Regions from separate parts of the Homo sapiens genome. Here region 2 is linked to region 1. The links are contacts of gene promoters, found by promoter capture Hi-C in blood cells and fetal thymus (Javierre and others, 2016). All regions are on one chromosome and are shown on one strand. The core of a region is centred on a gene start or on the middle of the fragment in contact, and the rest is flanking DNA. Distances in the headings are between cores, read along the strand shown. Region 1 holds the start of TRIM21 (tripartite motif containing 21). Region 2 holds the start of OR52K2 (olfactory receptor family 52 subfamily K member 2).

Region 1 (2,915 bases), core at 212-2,711:
AGGGAACCCTCATACACTGTCAATGGGAATGGAAATTAGTACAAACACTATGGCAAACAATTTGAAGGTTCCTCAAAAAAAAAAAAAAACCTGAAAATAGAGCTACCATGTAATCTAGCAATCCTACTGGATACTGCTAGGTATATACCCAGAAGAAATACTGTTAGGTATATATCCAAGAGAAAGGAAATCAGTATATCAAAGAGATATCTGCACTCCCATGTTTATCGCAGCACTATTCACAATAGCCAAGATTTGGAAGCAACGTAAGTGTCCATCAACAGATAAATGGATAAGGAAAGTGTGGTACACATACACAATGGAGCACTATTCAGCCATAAAAAGAAGGAGAACCTTTCATTTGCTACAAGATGGATGGAATTGGGGATTATTATGTTAAGTAAAATAAACCAAACACAGGCAAACAAACAAATTGTTATGTTCTCACTTATTTGTGGGAGTTAAAAATTAAAACAATCCAACTCATGAAGATAGAGAGGATGATGGTTACCAAAGGCTGGGAAGGGTAGTGGGGAATGATTAATGGGTTCAAAAATACATGAGAGAGAATGAATAAGATCTAGTATTTTATAGCATAACAAGGTGAATACAGTCAATGATAATTTATCATTTTAAAATAACTAAAAGCATATAACTGGATTGTATATAACACAAATGATAAGTGCTTGAGGTGATGGATAGATACCCCACTTACCCTGATATGATTATTACGGATTGTATGCTCTACCTGTATCAAAATATTTCATGTACCCCACAAATATATACACCTACTATAGACACACAAGATTGAAAATTAAAAAAATTACTTTGGTAAATTTTATGTTCTATATTTTTACGATTAAAAATAAAAATAATATAACCTGAGAATGTCCCTAGCTCAGTGACAAGAACACAGTTGGTTGTCAAATGTCAATTTCCTTCTCACCACTCACTGGTGGGACACTCACCTTGGGGTCATGCGAAATAAATCACTCACCTGCAGGCGTTAAAAAATATTAGTCACATCAGTCACATGAAAATAATTAGCTTCTGGAAGTAAGCAGATGGTGGCACGCGAGGAAGAGCACCGGCCACTCTTCTCTGCATCAAAACTTCCTTAAAAGCATCTTCCAGACATGGACATAGCGTCTAGGTGTGGAGTGATGACCAGTGTCAAAGAAAGCAGCCCGGACTCCCCCGTCTTGTAGATATTTTACCAAATCAGATAATGAAGACATGGGAGGGAGCGCGCAACCAGGACCACGGGCTACTGAGTTTCCACTCCTTCCCAGTCTCAGAGAAGCCTCCTGGGCATGCAGAGCCTCTGAAGCCTCCCCCAGCTCAACTCTGACTTCTCTTCTCAGCCGCATTTCTCCACACACCCTTTCAAGGCTCTGCTCCTCCCACTGCTCCTCCCTCACTCCTCCCACGGCTCCTCCTCCTCCCTCCCCTTTCCTCTCAGACTTGCTTCTGAGCGGAAACTGAAAGTGAAATAGGGAGCTGGCTACCAGCGTTGAGTCCCCTGTAAAGGTGAGTGAACCCCACTAGATCAAGGGACCCCTGCCCTCCTAGGGGACCTCTCTCCCCTGCCCCAGGGTTGCAGAGCCCCTTCCAGTCTCCATCCTTGAGCCGGTCCCATTTGCCCCTTCTCCCACCAGGGATCCCTCAACCCAAGACCAGCTGCGCTTCCGGTGCTGGCCCCCTGCTTGGGAGGAGGCTGGGGTGTGGACCTGACTGCCGAGTTACCCAGAAGGGGAAGGGGCCCGGCTGCCCCCTACCTGGGAGGAGGCTGGGTTGTGGACGTGACTGTGGAGTTACCCAGAAGGGGAAGGGGCCCGGCTGCCCCCATGCTGGCACCTGACCTAGGATGACGGCTGGGTGTGGCTGGGATAGCCAGGACTACAGCCTAGCCAGGAGGGTAGGGAGCCCAGTGTCGGGGAGGTCTGCAATTCTGGAGACTCCCAGGTCCAAAAGTCCTCCAGAGGTGAGAGGGGCAGGCTGTTTAGGATGTTCAACCAGAAATGTATAGGCCTTCAGAATTATTCTTTGTCCTAGAATAAGTGTTGTCAGGAACTAAACTAAGTTTGGAGCAGCTGAGAAAAGAGCCCAGGGAGTGCTGGCCACGGTTCCTGTTACTCTGTGTGTATACATACATATACACCTACATACATATATGCAACTGACTTCCGCCGTTATAGGAGGGATTAATGAAGATATATTCAAAGCATGAAGTATCTCTGGCACATGGAAGGTACATGGTAAAAAGTAGCTATAATTTCTCAGCAACATGGAGGCCTGTTGGTACCCGACAGGAGATGGATGAGCACTGAGGGTTTAAGCAGGAATGGACATGATGAGAGTAGAACTGTCAACAGCTTTATGAGGTTCTTGCCAATTTTCATTCCCTCTTTTAGGGACTCAGTTTCTCCTTCTGTCTCACTGGATCAATGGACCAAACAATGGAGGAGTTCTTGTTATTCAGAACAGGAATAAACTTATTCAACAAACTGTTTGATCGGTGCAAAAGTAATTACTGTTTTTGACATTAATTGTTTTGCCATTAATTTTATGCCTTGTTTTGTTTTGTTTTGTTTTTGAGAGGGAGTCTCGCCGTGTCACCCAGGCTGGAGTGCAATGGCACAATCTTGGCTCACTGCAACCTCTGCCTCCCAGGTTCAAGCAATTCTCCTGCCTCAGCCTCCCAAGTAGCTGGGATTACAGGTGCCCACCACCACTCCCAGCTAATTTTTGTATTTTTAGTAGAGACAGGGTTTTACCATATTGGTCAGGCTGGTCTTGAACTCCTGACCTAAGGTGATCCACCCACCTCGGCCTCCCAAAGTGCTGGGATTACAGGTGTGAGCCACCGTGCCTGACCCATTATTTTTATTCTTATTTTTTATTTTCCTTTGCAT
Region 2 (3,178 bases), core at 526-3,025, 56 kb before region 1:
GACACCCCTAATTTAGTATATGTGTCCCCATCCCCTATCACAGATTTGGTGGAATTAGTAAATAAATGAGCCATTCTCATTCTTGAAAACATAAGATACATCTATGTGCAAAGAAAGAGTTGCATGAAACATAAAGCCAGAGGACATGTCTTATTCAAAGTACTTAATAAAAGGAATTGGACATAAGGATGGATTGGTAAATATAAGCAAAAGAATACACATACTGGCTTAGGTGAAAAAATGATTTTCTAGCAAGCATAGGTGTCTTACTCAGAACCTGCAGCCCTGGAATGTTTCAAACTTCCTAACACTGAGTGTTTCATCAGAAGCTGGACACCACCAGTCAGAATGAATGAAGGATTCCTATGTCAGATATACTGTTGGCCCTCACCCAGGTCCTGAGTAGATAGTTCACCAAATTCCCAATGACTAAGAAAAGAAACTCAGATTTTCAAAGTCTTCTCTTCAGCAAATGAAGTTGGAAGCATCTTTGTGTCTTTCGGTGAAGTCACCTGGAGACCCATGGGTCAAGTCTCTGTCAAGTTACTGATAGGGGTGAGGGCACTGTGAGAAGACAGCACAGTCAGCACATTCAATCCACAGGCTACCAGAGGACACAGACCCATGAGTCCTGAACAGACTGGTGGCTCTGAGTTTCAGGACATCATTTTTTTTTTTTCCAAGAAAAAACTAAACATGAAGATCCTGGCAGCCGTGCACATTCTACCATAGCCTGTCTCCAACTCCAGCAGACAAGCCAACCCATTCTTTCTCCACCTCACCCTCTACATATCCTTTCTTGGGAATACTCCCAAGATGCTCTCACGGATTTGCTTGGTCTTGACACCATAGATTATGGGATTGACCATGGGTGGGAAGAGCAGATAGAAATTGGCAAGGAGGATGTGGACATGAGGGGCAGCATGGCGGGCTACACGGTGCATGACTGAAGAGATGACCACAGTTGTGTAGAAGGCTAAGATGGCACCTATATGAGAGACACATGTCCCAAATGCCTTGTAGCGGGCCTCCTGAGAGGCAAGCAGTAGAACTGCCTGAAGAATAAAGATATAAGACAGGATAACAAGGAGCAGGTCCAACACCACAATAAACATGGCCACAGCGATGCCATAGATATTGTTGAAGCTAGTGTCCCCACACGCCAGCCTCACCACAGCCATGTGTTCACAGTAGCAGTGAGCGATCACTGGGCCTCGGCAGTAGTGGAAACATCTCAGCAGGAAGGGGAGTGGAGTCATTAGTGTCACAGCCCGGGCCACAGCAGCCATGCCAATCTTGGTGATGAGGGACCCAGTCAGGACCTTGGTGTAGTGCAGTGGCTTGCAGATAGCCACATAGCGGTCAAAGGCCATGGCCAGCAGCACTGCTGACTCCATGATGGAGAAGGAGTGAAGGAAGAACATCTGGGCCAGACAGGCAAAGAAGTTTATCTCCCGATCCCTGAACCAGAATATGGCAAGCATTTTGGGCAGTGCTGAGGAGGAAAGGACCAGGTCGATGGCTGCCAACATGGCCAGAAAGAGGTACATGGGTTCATGGAGGGCTGCATCAGCCTGGATGATGAGAAGGAGAGTGCAGTTTCCAAGCAGGGCCAGTGTATATGCTAAGCAGAAAGGGATGGAGATCCAGATGTGCAGGTGTTCCAGGCCTGGAATCCCCACCAACAAGAAGGCAGTTGGATGTGTTAAGGTGATATTGGAGGCTGACATGGCTCCTGGGAATTCTCTTCCTCCTTATCTGCTTCCACAGGGCCCTTCCAGAGAATATTCAATATCAGCAGAATTACAATGCTCACATTCAAACTCTGATCATTCTTGTGAGAAGATTAGTTCTTAGACCCATTTTTAGACATGAAAAGAAATGAGAAAATAATCATATGTATCATGAAATATTATGCATGATCCTTGCCCTTAAGCTGTTTATAAAAACACTGGGTGCTCAGGACATTTAATTCCAATAAAGCTAGTATTACAAAGCAGCCTTATTGAGAAATCAAGTGGAGGAAGAGCCTTTTGTGGCCTGCATGTGGCCAAAAGCAACTTTGTAAATAATACAGATTGCTGCTTAATTCAAATCATACCCACAAACATTTACCGTCACTGTCTTCCTATTGCCTTCCAATTCAAACTACACTCCCAATTATGAAAGAGTTTCTGCCCTGAAATGTCAATCTTGGTCATATGAAAAATAAATGTAGTTAGCACTTTCTAATAATTCACTTCCCTACAAGTTCTTTAGATTTTTTTTCTAGCAGGGTTTCGTAGGTCCTTGTTTGACACTCAGAAATCCCTCCAACTAAAGCCCTACCTCCAGGTAACTTGAGAACATGAGAAGCCCTTTTGTTGTTCTCTTTTGCCTAACTGTAGTTTAACCTTCATCTCTACGTGCTTCTTCCTTCCTGGACTTCATGACATTCAGAAGAAGAGATGCCCCACACTTACCTTTTTGCAAGACTGACCTATTCCCTTCACACTATTTTTCCATCTGGGATCCTTATCATTCTATCTTTTTCCACCTTCTGTTGTCATTTCCCTTGAAAACGTTTAAACATTTCCTTGCAATATTTTTGACCTGTGCCACCTTTTTTTTCAGCTCCTGCCTAAAAACTTTCTTTTGGGGATTTTGAGATCTTTTAAAACACTTAGCACAAATCTTGAAACAGTGCTCAGTAAACGTGGACACTTATGAATTGAGAAAACAAAAGACTAAGTCACTAACAATCAGAACAGTTGGAAAACGTCAAAGATGAAACTTGAGCTTCGAGAACTCTGGTTTGCTGCCTCCCAATCCAATGTCTTAAATCACTACACTCTTCTGCTTCTACCTCATTGCTTCCTAAGAAGTATAAATCCAGCATATTCAAGTTAACAGAAATATAACTCAAACTCATTATCATGATATAGGAAAAAAAATTAGAATCTAAAGACTTGGGTTTAAGTAATGATTGAGCCATCAGCCTACCAATAGAAACTAGTATTAATCACTGAAATTTTTAAAGATTTAGGTTCCTCACCTATAGATGAAGGCATAACCATATCTTCCATGACAATTTTACTGCTTCATGATGAGGAAAGATAAAATCATGAGAAGAGTCCCTGTAAACTGTAAAGCATTGTAAAACTGTTATTTGTCATTACAATATTCCCCCTCCCACACA

Evidence for each region. The method cuts DNA at HindIII sites, captures the fragments that hold promoters and counts their contacts. A CHiCAGO score of 5 or more calls a contact.
Region 2: a contact is called between the fragment with the promoter of OR52K2 here and the fragment with the promoter of TRIM21 in region 1, in 6 of 17 cell types (monocytes, M0 macrophages, M2 macrophages and 3 more). The highest score is 9.3, in monocytes.

What each region holds. Positions count from the first base shown.
Region 1 is chr11:4,392,248-4,395,162 of GRCh38, reverse strand. It overlaps TRIM21 (tripartite motif containing 21), which reads left to right and starts at 1,461. Exons shown (of 7, transcript NM_003141.4): 1 at 1,461-1,530. RefSeq lists enhancers at 1,281-1,340, 1,361-1,570. The HindIII fragment of the contact is 6,932 bases long and covers 1-2,915 here.
Region 2 is chr11:4,447,892-4,451,069 of GRCh38, reverse strand. OR52K2 (olfactory receptor family 52 subfamily K member 2) reads right to left here and starts at 1,775. Exons shown (of 1, transcript NM_001005172.2): 1 at 709-1,775. The coding sequence starts at 1,730. The coding sequence ends at 786. The HindIII fragment of the contact is 8,565 bases long and covers 1-3,178 here.